Linked DNA regions of Homo sapiens: all the other regions are linked to region 1. Evidence: promoter capture Hi-C in 16 types of primary human blood cells and fetal thymus (Javierre and others, 2016). All regions are on one chromosome and are shown on one strand. Each heading gives the region's core, a stretch centred on a gene start or on the middle of the fragment in contact. The rest is flanking DNA. Distances are from core to core; before and after follow the strand shown. Region 1 holds the start of LAMP2 (lysosomal associated membrane protein 2). Region 2 has its middle 8.9 kb from the start of RHOXF1-AS1. Region 3 has its middle 120 kb from the start of C1GALT1C1. Region 4 overlaps RHOXF1-AS1 (RHOXF1 antisense RNA 1). Region 5 has its middle 41 kb from the start of ZBTB33. Region 6 overlaps RHOXF1-AS1 (RHOXF1 antisense RNA 1).

Region 1 (2,769 bases), core at 53-2,552:
CTCAGGTGATACACCCACCTCGGCCTCCCAAAGTGCTGGGATTACAGGCATGAGCCACCACGCCCGGCCCCATCCAGCCATTCTTAGGCCCTGGTAACAACCCAATCCTTAGCAAGTTTGTCTACCTGCTCCCTGCACCCCCAAAATATGAGGTAATAGGCTAGCTGTGTGATGGGGAAGAAAGAAAAGAAGAAACTCTGAAGGCAAAGAGGTAGTCTACCAAACTCAAATACTCCACCCCCAAAACCTCACATCTGGGAGGCCCTCCTAACTGAAACGTCTGGGGATTTTTTTGTCAGCGTCTGGCTGGGAGGAAGTAGCAAAACTGGGAGAAAATCGACATCCTCAATACCTCCAAGTCAGATGTGCACTCCCCATCAAAGTTCCCCCTGAACCCCTTAGTCTCCAGAGGTTGGGTCCAAGTTTTCTTTCCTGGAAATTGCCCCAGCTACCTTAGGTTCCTTCGCCCTTAAAACTATGACTACCAAACTCAAACCCAGCATCACTCCTAATCTCTTGAATCATCCTTTCTTCACAGTCTCAAATTCCAACCTTCAAAATGCCCAACCCTGTCACTGCCCCTGCCCCTCAGGCTCTACTGTCCTATCTGTCCCATCTGTCCCCCACCCACACACTTCTCCCAAGCTACTCCAGGCAGGCATGGTCTTCTCTCTTAATTTCCTATCTCACCCCATAGTTTTTCCACCATCTTCAAAACTCTTCCCTGATCTCAGCAAACCAAGACTCTCCTAATTGTCTCTGGCGCCCAAAATCTGCATGTACCACCCTCCTACGCTCACTCCTCAGTGTTTTCCCCAAGTTACTCTTTCCACGCTGACCCTCTCCACGCTTCACTCCTCCCAGCCTACTCCCTCGGCGTCCACCCCCCGTTACCGGCCCCTTCTTACTCTCCTGGGCCCTTCTTCCCCGCCATCCGTCGGTCAGGCCTTCTCTAGGTCACCGCTTGCCTCCCCGGGCCAACCGCCGCCGCCCAGTGTTAGCTGCTGAGCCTCTCAACCCCCTCCCCCTCGGACCAGTCTTTCAGGTTGTAGCTTTGAACTGGTGCCCCGGGCCCAGGCGGACAGACTAATCGGGAGGGCCCGACAACTCACCCAGGACTAGGCAGACCAGAACGAGCCCTGAGCCCGGAACCGGGAAGAGGCGGAAGCACACCATGACCCCGCAGAGCAGGCGGCGACGGCGGCGACGGCGGCGGTACAACAACAGCTGCAACACCAGGGAAAAGGCTCGCTGGACCTGGGTCAAGAGCACTGATGACCACCGACCACAGCCTTGCAAAAGCCAGGAATCGGCGCTTCAGTGCGAGTCATAAGACTAGGGGCGGGGCTCTTTCTTGCTTACAGCCAATCTCCGCGCTTGAAAGCGGCGAGAGGGGTGGTGATGTAGCGGCCGGTGGGCGGGGCGACCACGCCCTGGCTTTTTGGTTCACAGCCCTTCCTATGCTCCTGAGAGATATGCGCGGACGGCATTTTCTTTTTCTTTTTCTTTCTTTTTTTTTTTTTTTTTTAATTTTACTTTAAGTTCTGGGATACATGTGCAGAATGTGCAGCTTTGTTACATAGGTATACATGTGCCATGGTGGTTTACTGCACCTATCAACCCGTCATCTAGGTTTTAAGCCCCACATGCATTAGGTATTTCTCCTAATGCTCTCCCTCCCCTTGGCCCCCACCCCTTGACAGGCCCCCGTGTGTGTTGTTCCCCTCCCTGTGTCCATGTGTTCTCATTGTTCAACTCCCACTTATGAGTGAGAACATGCAGTGTTTTGTTTTCTGTTCCTGTGTTAGTTTGCTAAGGATGATGGCTTCCAGCTTCATCCATGTCCCTGCAAAGGACATGATCTCATTTTTTTATGGCTGCATAGTATTCCATGGCATATATGTGCCACGTTTTCTTTATCTAGTCTATCATTGATGGGCATTTGGGTTGGTTCCAAGTCTTTGCTATTGTAAATAGTGCTGCAATAAACATACGTGTGCATGCGTCAAATGGTATTTCTGGTTCTAGATTTTTGAGGAATCGCCACACTGTCTGCCACAATAGTTGAACTAATTTACACTCCCACCAACAGTGTAAAAGCATTCCTATTTTTCCTCAGCCTCGCCAGCATCTATTGTTTCCTGATTTTTTAATAATCACCATTCTGACTGGCGTGAGATGGTATCTCATTGTGGTTTTGATTTGCCTTTCTCTAATGATCAGTGATAATGAGCTTTTTTTCATGTTTGTTGCTGCATAAATGTCTTTTTTTGAGAAGTGTCTGGTCATATCCTTTGCCCACTTTTTGATGGGGTTGTTTTTTTCTTGTAAATTTGTTTAAGGTCCTTGTAGATTCTGGATATTAGACCTTTGTCAGATGGGTAGATTGCAAAAATTTTCTCCCATTCTGCAGGTTGCCTGTTCACGCTAATGCTAATTTCTTTTGCTGTGCAGAAGTTCTTTTAATTAGATCCCATTTGTCAATTTTGACTTTTGTTGCGATTGCTTTTGGTGTTTTAGCCATGAGGTCTTTGCCCATGCCTATGGCGGACGGTATTTTCTAAGGCTAAGGAGAGAGGAGGAACTTTTGAGGGCCGTAGATAGTAGACTATTTCCGTTTTGGCTCCTTGACAAAGAAGAGAAAAATTTTGCGGGCACAAAAACGGTTGCTAGGCATCTCAAACGTAATACATACAAAAATAATACATGCTTATTCTCCAAACACTGTTGTTACCTATGCAGTTCATGCTGTGAGATGGACGAGGGAAC
Region 2 (2,990 bases), core at 193-2,692, 440 kb before region 1:
CTGTGGAGCAGGAGGCGGCGCTCGTCGGGGAGGCTCGGGCCGCACAGGAGCCCACGGTGGAGGGGGGCTCAGGCATGGCAGGCTGCAGGTCCTGAGCCCTGCCCCGCGGGGAGGCAGCTGAGGTCCTGCGAAAATTCGAGAGGTCCTGCGAAAATTCGAGTGCAGCGCCGGCGGGCCGGCGCTGCTAGGGGACCCGGCGCACCCTCCACAGCTGCTGGCCCGGGTGCTAAGCCCGTCACTGCCCGGGGCCAGTGGCGCTGGCCGGCCGCTCTGAGTGCGGGGCAGGTTGAGCCCACGCCCACCCGGAACTCGCGCTGGCCCGCAAGCGCCTTACGCAGCCCCGGTTCCTGCCCGCGCATCTCCCTCCACACCTCCAGGCAAGCTGAGGGAGCCGGCTCCAGCCTCGGCCAGCCCAGAAAGGGGCTCCCACAGTGCAGTGGCAGGCTGAAGGGCTCCTCAAGCGTGGCCAGAGTGGGCGCCGAGGCCGAGGAGGCGCCGAGAGGGAGCGAAGGCTGCAGGGGCTGCCAGTACGCTGTCACCTCTCACTACCTTGCATGGATGGTGGAGCCATAGTGATTGGGTGACCATCCTGGCCTCACTGCCTGCTGTGTGACCTTGGCTTTTCTAATAATGTTCTTTGAGTATTTCAGATTTATCTCTGAGGTGAAATGTGCTTAATGAGGCCCCTGGAATCATTCTAAGACCCTTGTCCTTAGAAAGAAGCTAATGATCCTCTCAGTGTGTGGCTCGGAGGAAGTGACAAAATCATGACTTCCTGACATGATAAATGGTCCGCTGTTCTGTGGTCCAGCTTTCCTTTCAATGCTCAGTTGCTGGGCTGAAAAGACAACCATATTGACTCTAGAATGTCAGTTACAATGTCTGTCCTCACAAGGGAAGTCATGATCAAACTGAAACAAGCAAGGTGTTCCCATGCTAGATGCCAGAGACAGGTTTACCCGTGGGTGAATGATGCAGTTCTTGTCCATGGTATAGGATGGGATGGTGTGGTGTCAGGGGAGGGGGCAAGAGGGGCACTGGAAGTAAGAGAGTGGGAGAAGAGGAGGGGTCCCTGTCAAATTCCCCTCAATCCTGAGAGAGACACTTAGGAACAGAGTGTCTCTGCTCCCTCTGGATATTCCCGTGTATATTTTGAAGCCTGGGAGGCAGGATGGAGGACATCCTGCTGATGCCTGAAGGATGGCAAAGCAGAATAGAAGGATGCTCCCTTAACCCCATGACCGAGCCTCTGAATTAACCAGCTCCAGTGTTTAACCTATCTCTGGACTTATTTATTTTTTTATTTTAATTTCAACTTTATTAAAATACAGTGTCCCTTTTGATTTCATTTTTTTTTTTCAGAAGGAATTTCACTCTTGTTGCCCAGGCTGGAGTGCAATGGTGCGATTTTGGCTCACCGCAACCTCTGCCTCCCAGGTTCAAGCGATTCTCCTGCCTCAGTCTCCCAAGTAGCTGGGATTACAGGCATGCACCACCACGCCCAGCTAATTTTGTATTTTTAGTAGAGAGGGGGTTTCTCCATGTTGGTCAGGCTGGTCTCAAACTCTCGACCTCAGGTGATCCGCCTTTCTCAGCCTCCCAAAGTGCTGGGATTACAGGTGTGAGCCACTGCGCCCAGCCTACAGTGTCCCTTTTCTTGTGACAGTCTTTATCTAAAACACTGCAGCTGATCGCACACAAGAAAGCCCACCTGGGGAAAGTATTGGCCTCCCTGATTGGTGAACCATTTTTGCCAACAGCAGCAGGACAGAAAACATGAGAGTTGTCACAGAGACACAAATATGCTGAAATAAATAAAAAGATATCCCATGTTCATGTATTAAAAGACCTGATAGTGTTAAGATGGCAATACTGTTTAATTTGATCTACTCCCCAGATTGATTCAGTGAAATCTCTCAAAATCCCAGCTAACGTCATTTGGAAATTGACAAGCTGATCCTAAAATGTACTTGAACACTGAAGTGACCAAGAATTGCCAAAATAATCTTGAAAAAGTTAAACATTTAGAAGACTCACACTTCCTGATCTTAAAACACACTACAGAGCTACAGTAATCAAAACAATGGGATACTACCATAAGGATAAGCATATAGACCAATGGAATAGAATTTAGAGTCCAGGAATACACTCATATATGTATGGGTAATTGATTTTCAACATGGGCATTAAAGCCATTCAATGGGGAAAAATAATCTTTTTAAGAAATGGTTCTGGGAAAACTGGATATCCACATGCAAAAGAATGAAGTTGGACCCTGTATAACACCATATACAAAAATTAATTCAAAAGGAATAAAAACTTTAAGAGCTAAAACTATAAAACTCTTAGAAGAAAATATAGATGCAAAATTCATGACCTTTCTATAGTCAATGGATTCTTAGATATGACACCAAAAGCACAAGCACAGAAGAAAGATAGATAAACTGGACATCATCAAAATTTAAAACTTGTGTGCCTCGATGGACACTATTGGCAAAAAGTGAGGAGGCAAACCACAGAGTTGGAGAACAATTTTGCAAATCACACATCTGATAAAATATATCTAGAATATGTAAAGAATGCTTAAACTTGATAATAAAAAGACAATCCAGTTAAAAAGGGGGCAAAGGATCTGAATAGACAGTTCTCTACAGAAAGTATACAGATGCACAATAAGCACAAGAAAACCTGTTCAGTATCATTAGCCATAAGGGAAATACAAGTTAAAAGCACAATGAAGTGCCATTTCATATCCACTAGATGGCTATAATAAGAAAGACAGATAATACCCAGTGTTGGTAAGGATGTGGAAAAATTGGGACCTTCCTACACTACTGTGTATGTGATGTTGAAAAGCAATTTGGTGGTACCTATCAACATTTATACATTTAAAGATTTTTTAAAGCACTTTGCAAAAATAAGTAAAAGAACTTTGCTTTCCCTTAGCCATTCCACTCCTGAGTAGTATCCTACAGAACTACTCACATATA
Region 3 (2,874 bases), core at 116-2,615, 280 kb after region 1:
AACATGTGCTGTATCATTTACACGTGTTTGCTCAAGTAGTCTTCACGGGAACACTGGAGGGGGAAGTATTATTATTGTCCTCACTTGACAGATAAGGAAAATAAAGCTCACAGGGGCTAGATGACTTAACCCACCTATAGCTGGGACCAGAACCCATGCAATATAACTCTAAAGTCCATGGTCCATTGAAGGGCCCAGGAACTGAAGGTAAGTCTATTGAAGACAGAAGGTATTAAATGAGCCAAGGGTATGTAATTTCTAACCTCTCCATGGACTTCCTGCCTCCTCCCTGAACTTCTGAGCTACTCAGTGGGCACTTGTATTAGCCTCTCTTTAATGCAGAGGCCTTATCTCCATATCTGGTCTAGACTGCAAACTTATTGTGGATAAGCCCATGTGTTATTACTGTCTGTGGCACTCATAACTTTCACACAGCAGGCTCTTAGTAAACAACAAAGGCAATGACCATAGCATCAGCAGCAGGTGTTGGAGTCACAGAACTAGGTTTGAATTTCAGCTTTGATTTGAACTCGTTTTGTGACCACGGGCACTTTGTTCCACCCCTCTGAACCTGTTTCCTTGTCTGTAAAATGGGCATAATACAAGTACTTATTTCAGATGGTTGTAATTTACAAATGAATTCAAATGTAGTGATTAGAACAGTGCTTGGCATGAAATAAATATTCAAGAAATGTTAGCTATTTATTGTTGCTATTATTATTAGAATCCCTATATGCCACTTTAATATTCACTTTAAAAATATAATCTTATCACACTTGAACATAATAGGTGTTATTACTATTTTATACACATGTCTCAGAAAGATTAAGGTAACTTTTACACAGAGTGACAGAGTGAAGTTTTGAATCCTCGATGCTATTTCTGCTACATGAATTGAATGGTTTCGTCTTTTCTGAAGGAGTGGAATGGTGGGCTTCCTTGATTAAGCCATTTCTTTAATGAAATGCTTGACCAAGACCCTAACAGCCACCAAGCTATGGAGGATCTTACTCAGTTATCTCCAGAAACCTGGCCAGAGGGAATGGGGTGAGGGAGAAGCTGAAGGCAAGGTGAGGGGGTGTGTGTGCTGGCTTTCTGAGAAGCTTAGGGTTAGAACAGGGAGTTGAGGAAGGGCCAAAGTAGAATTAAATTCAAATGCAGGTGATTTCACTGAGGCTAAGAAAATGATACCCCCCTACCCTCCACCCCTCACAGCTGCAGTGGGGCCCAGCTTGCAGCTGGGAAGGCTTTTGCGTTTACTACTCACAGTTCTCTGGGAGCCAATGTTTGCTTCCCTTTCTCCGGGGTTTTGTGCAGGGAGAGGTGCAGAGCAACAATCAGAGACCAAATAACTTAATTCAAGGCCAAACAGATGCTTTTTTTCTTGAAGGTATCCAGGGGTATGATCTGCAACAGAGCTGCTCATCACCGCTCTCTAATTTTGGGGCCTCGTGTAGGGGAAGAGCTCATTCGCTTCTCTTGGGATGTGAGCCAGCTGGGATAGATGCTTCACTAAGAGACATGTGTGCACTTTGTCCTGATCTGAGCTCACTGTGAAGGGCCTTTGAACTCATCAAGCAATTCCAGGAAGTGGAAGATGATCAAAGAACACAAGAGAATCATGGTTTAAGCTTCTTTTAAAGTCGAGTTTGGATGTGCTGTGAAGAGGGAGGAGGCAGCTTTCTTGTCCACCGGCATCACATAAAGAGAAGAGCTGTGAATCCCCACAAAGAACCACTTGCACCATAAGTACCAGGGCAGGGGAGGCGTGGGGCTTGTAACATTAGATTATTGGGCCCTCCTCACACCCTCAAAATCAGAATTTGGTGGGGCGGGGGGCTGCGGGAGGACGGTGAGAGTAGGTCCCAGCAGTCAGCAATTCAAATAAGCCCCCAGGTGACTCTAATGTACTGGAAAGTTTGAGGACAACTAAGTTAAAGCATGGGACTTGGAGAGTTCCAACCCTGCTTCTACTACTTATCAACTCTGTGATCTTTGGCAAGCTATTTAACCTCTCTGAGCTTTAGATTCTTCCTTATAGAATGGAATAACCATAGTACCTCCCTCACAGTGCTGTGGGGAGGATTAAATGAGATAACATGTTCCCAATTAGAAATGGTAGTTATTAAATTTCTTCTCCCATTATGCATTATTTTTGTTTCTCCTTTTGAGTAGGAAATGCAAATTTATCTTTCTCCACTTGAAGCACACCACCCCCCGCCGCCCCCGCATTTTCCTTTCACCAGCAGGTGTTTGGCACGTCTAAACACTTGTTTAAAACCCTGTTAAAAACATAGGCAAAGCAGAGGCTCCATACAGTGGCTAAAGATGTTTACCACATGGATGGCACACCTGAGAAGTGCCTACCTGAGCAGTGCCCTTTTCAGATGATCTTCTCCTAACTTCCCACCTCCCTCTCCCTAAATTAAAACCTTTGCATCCAGTGTACTGTCTCTGTACGGTTCTTCTCTGTGTCAGGGCTAGAGCACCAATGAGTTAGTCATGCAGTTGCATAATTATGCAGTGTTATCAATCTCTTGTAAGTTTGGTGAATGGGAGTCGTCAAGAAGATCCCACCTCGCACCTGTGTGGGCTGGCAAAATACGGTTTTTCACCTCTAAAATGGAAAGCCAGCTCCTGGACCTAAGTCGGCCCCAGGAAAGCACTGCTATTTGTAGACACTGCCTCTCTGTCTTACCTCTTAATCATAGCACACTGAATACTGCCTCACAACACCGCTAGCTGTCCCTTTTGGTTTTTTCCCCTTGATGATGGTTGGAACCTAATTTCACCTAGATTCTTTCATTTAACAAATAATTATTGAGCTAAGAAGGGTAATCCCAGAGATGGCTGTTATTAAGAAGAGCTATTTGA
Region 4 (3,007 bases), core at 327-2,826, 380 kb before region 1:
TCAATTAATTTATAAAATTTTTACAGTTCTATGTTACTCCTATAATTGGTATGTGACAAACCTCTCAGTGTTCCTTCTACAGATATCCAACTTTAGATACTGATAATAAGAATTAAATTAATAGCTTTCGTCACTTACTGAGTCCCTGCTCTTTACCTGCCAGGCGCAGTGTTAGACATGCATGCATTGCGTCTTTCACTTGTCACAGCAATGGTGTAAGGTAGATGTTATTCCTATCCTCACCTTTCTACCTATCTCCTACTAAGGCAGCACAATGTATCTCAGCTGATTTAAGGAGTTAAATTTAGGTAACATCAAATCAAGTAGAAGTATAGAATTTAAAAATCATCAGTGCAATTATTTGATAAAGCATAATGTCAACTCTGGAAGAAGGATAACTTTTAAAGTTATGAAGCAATAAAAAAATCAGAAAGAAAAATATGGACCACAAAACTAAGAAAAAGAGGAAAACAACAGAATGGGGAAATATTTGTAGTGAAAAACGTAAGCATTAGTTATTTTAAATGTATTTTTTAAGTTATTAAACATTGGAAGAATACCACCAAATGTCCAAACGTTCAGTGAAGAATAAAACAAATCACAGAACAAAAAGCACATAGAAGAGCCTTAAAAAAGGTGTTAACTTCACTATGCAACAAGGAACTATAAATATATTTTTAAATTAAATTTATATTTTATTTTATTATATTTTTGAGACAGAATCTCACTCTGTCACCCAGGCTGGAGTGAAGTGGTGTGATCTCGGCTTGCTGCAACCTCTGTCTCCTGGGTTCAAGCAATTCTTGTGCCTCAGCCTCCAGAGGAGCTGGGACTACAGGCACCTACCACCACGCCCAGCTAATTTTTGTATTTTTAGTAGAGATGGGGTTTCACCATGTTGGTCAGGCTGGTCTCAAACTCTTGGCCTCAGGTGATCTGCCCGCCTCAGCCTCCTAAAGTGCTGGGATTACAGGCATGAGCCACCAAGCCTGGCCTAGTTAGTATAAATATAACAGTGTCATTTCATACCTAATTAATAAATAAAGACAAGCTGAAAATGATAAAATACAACGTTCCTGTGGCTGTGGGGAAAAACATGTATTGCAAATGGCAATGATAATAACAATAACCAATATTGTGCCCACTTTCCTCTTGTGCCCACATCTCTGTGCAGAGGAACTACTGTTTACCCCATTTTGTAGATCAGATGACTGTGACTCAGAAGGGAGGGGTAAGTGGTCCCCCATCACACAGTTAGTATGGTGTTTTAGTCCATTTTTGTGTTACTGTAAAGGAACACCTGAGGCTGGGTAATTTATAAAGAAAAGAGGTTTATTTGGTTCATCGTTCTGTAGGCTGTACAAGAAGGATGACACCAGCATCTGCTTCTGGTGAGGGCTTCAGGAAGCTTCCACTCATGGAGGAAGGGGAGCAAGTGTATGTCAATCACATGGTGACAGGAAGGAACAAAAGATAGGGGAGGAGGTTTCAGGCTTTTTTAACAAGCAGATCTCAGGGGAAATAATAGAGTGTGAACTCACTCATTATACCAGGTCAGCACCATGCCATTCATGAGGGACTCAACCCCATGATCCAAACATTTCCTGCCAAGTCTCACCTCCAACACTGGGGATTAAATTTTGACATGAGATTTGCAGGGGACAAATATCCAAACTAGCCTAATAGAGCTTTGTTGAAGTTAAAAACGCTATGTTCCTTTTTTTTATTTTACATAAAACCATTTGGAAGCTTTTTTTTTTTTTTAAATAGAGATGATGTCTCACTATGTTGCCCAGGATGTTCTCAAATTCCTGGCCTGAAGTGATCCTCCTACCTCACCTCCCAAATCTCTGAGATTACAGGTGTAAGCCACGGTGCCTTGCTGATTATTTTTTAGAGGCAGAGTCTTGCTCTGTGGCCCAGGCTGGAGCACAGTGGCACAACTCTAGCTCACTACAGCCTCAAACTCCTTGGCTCAAGGGATCCTCCTGCCTCAGCCTCCTGAGTAGCTAGGACTACAGGCGCGTGTCACCACACCTAGCCTAAAAACCATGTTTTTAACCAAAACTGGATACTGTTTCTCATGGCAATATACAAGAAAAAAAGAAAAGGTTCAAACTCTTTCACTTATGTATTTCAGTTCTGGCATGTTAGCCCAAAAATGCTAATTTAGGCTGAGTGTGGTGGCTCATGCCTGAAATCCCAGCAATTTGGGAAGCTGAGGCAGGAGGATTGCTTGAGTCCAGGAGTTCAAGACCAGCCTGGGCAATATGGCAAAACCCTGGCTCTACAAAAAATTTGCAAAATTAGCTGGGCATGGTGGTACATGCCTATAGCCCAAGCTACACAGCAGGCTGAGGTGGGAGGATCACTTGAGCCCAGGAGGTCGAGGCTGCAGTGAGCCATGATTGAGCCACTGCACTCCAGCCTGGGTGACAGAGTGAAACACTGCCTCAAAAACAAAACAAGGCCAGGCATGGTAGCTCACACCTGTAATCTCAGCATTTTGGGAGGCCGAGATGAGCAGATCACTTGAGGTCAGAAGTTCAAGACCAGCCTGGCCAACATGGTGAAACCCCATCTCTACTAAAAAATACAAAAAAAATAGCCAGGCATGGTGGCACACACCTGTAAACCCAGCTACTTTGGAGGCCGAGACAGGAGAATTGCTTGAACCGGGGAGGCAGTGGCTGCAGTGAGCCTAGATTGTGCCACTGCACTCCAGCCTGGGTGACAGGGTGACTCCGTCTCAAACAAACAGAAAACAAAAAAGGAAGCAAAAGAAAGTTTAAAAGTAGCCATATGTACAAAGATGTGCATTCATTCAATTGATATCTGTTGATCACTCATTATGTGTCAGGAAACAACCTTAAGCAAATTACAAGATACGAATGCAGACATTAAAATGAAAACTATGAAGAAAATGATAAAATGTTGAAAAGCATTTCTGAAATAGTGTTAAATGGAAAAACTGGACCACACTATTGGATACTGAAAGTAATCGTTC
Region 5 (3,107 bases), core at 550-3,049, 260 kb before region 1:
GTGCGGTCCAGCCTAGTACTAACACCATATGGTTTGAAACCAGGTGTGGGCAAAGCAGCTAATAAGCTAAACTCAGGGCAGTGTGAATGGTAATCACCAAGGATGTGACAACCTATGGTAATCTGCGCCAATAGCTGGGCAGTTTATCAAAGCTTATGTATGTAACGGGCTAGAGTGCCCAAAAGCTTGTGTATGTATTGGGCCTGCATGCCCAAAGCTTGTGTGTCAGGCTTATGTGTCAAGCCTGTGTATATATCAGGCCTGCGTGCCCAAAGTTTATATGTCAGGCCTGTGTGCAAAACTTGAGTATCAAACCTGTGTGCCCAAGACCTAAGTCTCCCTCAGCCTAGGGGGTGGAGTGTAAGGTACATGGATGTGCTTTGGTCAAGGAATAAGCCGAGGTGGATATCCAGGCCTGCATGACTCAGTGAGTTTGGCATGCAGGTGCACACCTCTGCTTGTTATATAACCTGTTTGTGTAAGTTCACACTTGGCTCTATACTTGGTATAAAGGTATATTTGCCCTGCTAATGCTGTACAGGGCTGTTGGGGCTCAGCTCGGCTCAACATGGGTTAACATGGTAGTGGGTGCGCTGGTGCCCAGAGAAAGAGAGAGAGCCAAAACTGTCAGTCTTGCAGATGGACAAGAGGGAGCCAGGACACAGCTTGGCTTGCTCATGCCCAGAGAGAAAAAGAGTTAAGCTGCTGACCCTGAAGGCAAGGGAGAACTGGCTGCACAGCTGTGTGTGGGAGCCGCTGGCTCAAGCAGCCAAGACAGGGTGGCCAGTGTGAGAGAGCCAGTGTGAGAAAGCTGTTCATAAAAGCTGCTGCTGGCCGGGCGCAGTGGCTCACGCCTGTAATCTCAGCACTTTGGGAGGCCGAGGCCAGCGGATCACGAGGTCAGGAGATCGAGACCATCCCGGCTAACAAGGTGAAACCCCGTCTCTACTAAAAATACAGAAAATTAGCTGGGCGAGGTGGCATGCGCCTGTAGTCCCAGCTACTCGGGAGGCTGAGGCAGGAGAATGGTGTGAACCTGGGAGGCGGAGCTTGCAGTGAGCCGAGATCGCGCTACTGCACTCCAGCCTGGGAGACAGACCGAGACTCCGTCTCAAAAAAAAAAAATAAATAAATAAAATAAAATAAAAAAAAGCTGCTGCTGAATAAAACCATATTCACCTGCCTACAGCCCCCCGAATGTTCTTTCTGCTCATCCACCCACTCCCTCCGGACTTCAGCATGGGTTGGACCCGGACCCCAGGACCTGACACCCTGCTCCCACAATTGCATATGGTCTGATTCCTGTAATCATCCCTTATTGCTTTTCACTCTGCTTCTCTGATCAAACTCTGCAACTATGTTCAAGTGATTCTTATTTTACATCCAAATTTGCAAATCAGACACAGGATTATAGACATTACAAAAAAATTCAATTTTGAAAAAAAAAGGAAGAGATTTGTATATGACACTTAAGTAACCCATCTATTACCCTCGCTTTCTTTTTGATGTCAAACTTCTTTAAATGGCACCCTAAGTTTATTGCAAAAGTATTTTTCTTCCTCCCATTTTCTCTGCAGTTCCTTGAATATGACTCCTGCTTTTAAAATGCTATTTTAATTCATCAGAAACTTATAAAACATCAAATCCAGATCTTAGTCCACTTTATTTCTTTGTACTCTTAACACTGTTGACTACTCTCTTTTTTCCCTCATTAAATTTGGTTTCAATGGGTCTCAAATTTCTGTGACAGATTTTTGGTCAAGTTGTTTCCACTAAAAAGTGCTGATTTTAAAAATTAAATAACTTAAAACTACCAGATGCCAAAAAAAAAAAAGTTCACAAAACATTCTCCTTTCCTTCCAAAGGTTTTACAATGCATTGTTATCATTAACCAGTCTTTTACGACTAAACTTAAGTGGCCAGTTGAAACAAACAGTTCTGAGACCCTTCCACCACTGATTAAGACTCAGGCCAGGCACCGTGGCTCATGCCTGTACTCCCAACATTTTGGAAGGCTAAGGTGGGTAGATCACTTGAGCCCAGGAGTTTGAAACCAGCCTGGGCAATATAATGAGACCTAGCCAGGCATGGCGGCACATGTCTGTAGTTCCAGCTACTTGGGAGTCTAAGGCAGGAGGATTGCTTGAACCCAGGAGGCAGAGGTCGCAGTGAGCAGTGATTGTGCCACTACACTCCAGCCAGGGCAACAGAGTGAGAACCTGTCTCAAAACAAAAAACAAAAAACAAAAAACAAAAACACCAGACAACAACAACAACAACAAAAAAGACTGGGGTGGCATGTATTAGGGATAATATTCATTTAGCTTTCTGAGCTTTCTGGACAGACTTGGTGACCTTGCCAGCTCTAGCCGCCTTCTTGTCCTCTGAACCCATGGCAACTGTCTGTCTCAGCGAATTTGGCATGCAGGTGCACACCTCCACTTGTTATATAACCTATATAACCTGTTGTATAAGTTCATACTTGGTTCTATCCTTGGTATAAAGGTATATCTGCCCGCAAAATGTCCCAGAAGAGAATAGTCAGGATAGTCAGAATATTCAGAGAAGCTCTCAACACACATGGGCTTGTTAGGAACTATATCAGTCATGGCAGCACCACCAGATTTCAAGAATTTAGGGCCATGTTCTAGCTTCTTACCAGAATGGTCACCTTTTCTTTCTGCTCAGAACACTTGTAAGGAATTTGAGATGTGTGACAATCTAGTGCAGGGGCATAGCCAGCACTGATTTGGCCTAGATGGTTCAGGATAATCACCTGAGCAGTGAAGCCAGATGCTTCCATTGGTGGGTCATTTTTGCTGTCACCAGCAACATTGCCATGATGAACATCTTTGGCAGATGCGTTCTTTTTTTTTTTCTTAGAAAGAATGTAATGCATGTTTTTAATCAGAACAACAGCAATAACAAAAGCTAAGTATGGATATGCCAATGTAGTGTTGAATCCAGCAATGGACACAAATAAAGAGCAAATGCTTGACAGAGACAGCTGTAAATAATCTATGTACCTCTTACATCCCCCCACTTCATAAAAAAGACATTCTCTTTGGAAATATGGTTACAAATGTAAATCACTGATTTCTTGCAAG
Region 6 (3,017 bases), core at 366-2,865, 320 kb before region 1:
AAGTTAAAGTTAAAGAAAGCTTAATTTTCATATACCTTCTATATTGCTTCTTTTCCTTTCCTTATTCTGTTACTAGCTCCTTTGTTATTAATGTAACTAAGTCTGAGTCACCTCAGACCATTGCCTTTTATGCTTGCTCTGTCATACCTTGTGGAAATGTAAAAGATCAATGACAGCTAGCCTTTTCACACAATTATTTATGCCTCGGCCCTCTAATTGACACAGTTACCCCTAGCACTCATCGTTGTGATCACCTGCAGCCAAGACGCTGATTTTCTGCTCCTATAGCCTGGCAACCTTGTGGTACATGGGACTACGTCCTTTAAACTACCCAGGAGCAAAGTTGGACTTCCATGAAAAAGGTTTGTGCAGATCTAAAACCTCTCATCTATTTCACTAAAAGGACTTCCCCTTCTAACTGTCACCCTTACCAATGTAACCCTGTCCTCTCTATCACCACCTCCACCTGTCTTTAACTAACTCTAGACCTGTCCTTAATTGCTTTTATGGTATTGGAATAGGAATTAAAAGAAATTAAAGAATGTGTAAGGAGAAACTCAGTTGTATGTAAGAAAACCCAATTCCCCCTGAGAAAGAGAAAGAGTTGGAGTCCTTTAAAAATTAACTGCCTGTTTTTCTGTGGCTAGTGAGCCTTATCTCTCCTCCTTTCCCAGACATTGTGAAGACCCTGTTTCTCTAGCTGTGCAGCTGCAAGGTCACTAGACAGATAAACTCAAGTTGTAAAACATGTTTTTCCTTGAAAAGTAAGAAATGCTGTAATGCATTTCTCAATTAATTAAATAACTGTCTTTGTTTCTCGCTTCTGTAATATGCTTCCCCCTGCACAGATCTCCACCCACCCTACAAAATGCTTAAAAGGTAACTTAACTCTTTGTTCTGGGCTCAGTCCTTTGGGCTGAGTACTGGGCCGGTGCACCTAAATAATAAATATCTTCCTGAACCCCATTTGTCTCTCTGATTCCTTAAAAAATCCCGCAACATTTCTGGGGACTCGCCTGGGATTGGAGACGACAGATTTACTGTCTCCTTTGCCTGTGGGGACTAGAGCCCAAGGACCGGGGGAGACCCGGCATCCAAGGTGTATCACAGGGGAGCTTCACCCAGACAGAGATAGGCTCTCCCCGCATCCCAGTGGCCTGCCCAGCAGTGCAATGGAACCGGGGATGGGGCTGCAGGAAGATACCAGCACTTCAGGAACCGCTGTAAGGAGCAAGGGCCCAAGGCATGAAAGCCCATCCCATAAGGATGAAGGGGAGCTTGGTCACCTCCCAGGGACCAACCAGTAATCCAACCTAGAGTGGCTGGGGGCGGCAGGAGTGGCTTGCCAATTTGGATGAACCTCGTGTCCCCACTAACAGTGGAACTGGGAAAAGGGAGAAAATGGGCCGATAGAGTGGCAAGTGCAGCAAGGTACAGCTTGCTGGCAGGGTGGCAAGAGTGGCTTGCCATCCCAACTGGGAGTGTGTGGGTGCATGTGAACCTACCTGGGACATGAGAGAGGCTCATTTTGTCCGATGAGGAGTCCTGGGGTAGGAGTGGTCTGTGTATGTGTGTGAATGTGGGAGCCTAACTAGGCTCACCTGGGACACGAGAGAGGCTTGTTTCATCCGATGAGGAGTCCTGGTGCAGGGGAGGTGTGTGAAAGTGTGAGAAAGAGACGGTCTCGGGAGAGGCCAATGTGGGGAGTGATGTGGGGAGGCACAGATCCCTCAGCGTGGGCTGTGTGCTCCGAGGCAAGTGTGGGGGAAATCAGACCTAGGACGCTGCATACGGCTGATCGAACCAGCTTCACAGCCACAGCAGGCTGTGACAGGGGAAGGCACATTCCTGGCTAAGCAGTGTCCAAAACTCCCGTAATAGGACCTGGTCTGGTGGACCCAAGGGTGAAAGTGAAAGGGAAAGTGCACCACAAGGGAGGAAATGGGAGGGAAAGCATTGAAATCAACTCCTTTGGAGTGCATGATATAGAATTTTAAAAAAAGATTTAGAGGTGATTATGGGATGAAACTGGATGCTCAAAAGCTAAGGACATAACTGTGAAATAGATTGGCCTGCTTTCAATGTGGGGAGGCCCTCCGAAGGTATAATAGGGAATTAACTGGCCATGTGTTTAAGGTGGTCACTGGAGTTGGAGGACAACCAGGATACCCAGACCAGTTTCCCTATATAGACTCTTGGCTCAATGTGGCACGAAGTCACCTCAAGTAGCTACAGCCCTGCCTAGAGGGATATTGCAAGGCATTAGTGTCTCATGTGGCCCAACCAAAGGAAGCAGAGGAACCTAAAGCCCCTAGCATCTCCCAGGAAAAGGAATCCCTGAAGCCTCAGCTGAAACCAGTTCTTCAGGCCCCACCCAAGGAAAGGGAATGTCCGCCCCCATATGTGCCAGTCTACCCATCTTTGACCAGAATAAGGCAGGAGGCAGAGTCAGGAGTGTCCGGAGAGTTGGGCTCAGAGGAAAGTGAGGCTCAGTCTCCCCCCACAGAGGACCAGAAGCCCCCATTATAAAAAAACAAGGAAGATGGACAGGGTGAGGCAGCTGGGTGCCTCTGCTCAGGCCGACCACAGGCTTTGCAGATGCCACTTTGAGAGACCAGGACACAAGTTTATGATGACCAGGGGCAGATACAAGGCGGCCCTAGGCTTTATGTTTATCAGCCTTTCTCCACTACTGATCTCTTAAATTGGAAACAACACACCCCCTCCTATATAGAAAAACCTCAGGCTCTCATTGATTTGGTGAATTCTACTATTATGACACATAATCCAACCTGGCCGGATTGTCAACAACTTTTGCTAACATTATTTAATACAGAGGAGCATAGGAGAGTTAATCAGGCAGCTCTCAGCTGGTTAGAAGGGGAAGCCCCAGAGACCACCCCTAACCCACGCCAGTTCAGCAATACCCAAATGAGGACCCTAACTGGGATCCAAATGAGGCAAGGGACATGGAAGGCCTGCAGCAATATAGAAAGGCACTCCTGAATGAGAAAAAA

What was found. The method cuts DNA at HindIII sites, captures the fragments that hold promoters and counts their contacts. A CHiCAGO score of 5 or more calls a contact.
Region 2: a contact is called between a fragment that was not itself captured here and the fragment with the promoter of LAMP2 in region 1, in 2 of 17 cell types (M2 macrophages and M0 macrophages). The highest score is 5.9, in M2 macrophages.
Region 3: a contact is called between a fragment that was not itself captured here and the fragment with the promoter of LAMP2 in region 1, in 4 of 17 cell types (naive B cells, fetal thymus, total B cells and 1 more). The highest score is 10.0, in naive B cells.
Region 4: a contact is called between a fragment that was not itself captured here and the fragment with the promoter of LAMP2 in region 1, in 1 of 17 cell types (naive B cells). The highest score is 5.6, in naive B cells.
Region 5: a fragment that was not itself captured here is called in contact with the fragment with the promoter of LAMP2 in region 1 in 1 of 17 cell types (M0 macrophages); the score reaches 5.8 in M0 macrophages.
Region 6: a contact is called between a fragment that was not itself captured here and the fragment with the promoter of LAMP2 in region 1, in 1 of 17 cell types (naive CD4 T cells). The highest score is 6.0, in naive CD4 T cells.

Annotation. Positions count from the first base shown.
Region 1 is chrX:120,467,994-120,470,762 of GRCh38, forward strand. LAMP2 (lysosomal associated membrane protein 2) reads right to left here and starts at 1,303. Exons shown (of 9, transcript NM_002294.3): 1 at 1,113-1,303. The coding sequence starts at 1,176. RefSeq lists a silencer at 1,241-1,505. The HindIII fragment of the contact is 7,034 bases long and covers 1-2,769 here.
Region 2 is chrX:120,025,806-120,028,795 of GRCh38, forward strand. No RefSeq gene overlaps it. Among named protein-coding and RNA genes, the nearest start is that of RHOXF1-AS1, 8.9 kb to the right of the region's middle. The HindIII fragment of the contact is 5,075 bases long and covers 1-2,990 here.
Region 3 is chrX:120,751,372-120,754,245 of GRCh38, forward strand. No RefSeq gene overlaps it. Among named protein-coding and RNA genes, the nearest start is that of C1GALT1C1, 120 kb to the left of the region's middle. The HindIII fragment of the contact is 528 bases long and covers 1,102-1,629 here.
Region 4 is chrX:120,092,609-120,095,615 of GRCh38, forward strand. All of the region lies in intron 1 of RHOXF1-AS1 (RHOXF1 antisense RNA 1), which reads left to right. Among named protein-coding and RNA genes, the nearest start is that of RHOXF2B, 16 kb to the left of the region's middle. The HindIII fragment of the contact is 341 bases long and covers 1,407-1,747 here.
Region 5 is chrX:120,208,140-120,211,246 of GRCh38, forward strand. It overlaps the pseudogene EEF1A1P30. Among named protein-coding and RNA genes, the nearest start is that of ZBTB33, 41 kb to the right of the region's middle. The HindIII fragment of the contact is 3,168 bases long and covers 216-3,107 here.
Region 6 is chrX:120,145,890-120,148,906 of GRCh38, forward strand. It overlaps RHOXF1-AS1 (RHOXF1 antisense RNA 1), which reads left to right. Exons shown (of 5, transcript NR_131238.1): 5 at 1-966. Among named protein-coding and RNA genes, the nearest start is that of RHOXF2, 11 kb to the right of the region's middle. The HindIII fragment of the contact is 3,196 bases long and covers 18-3,017 here.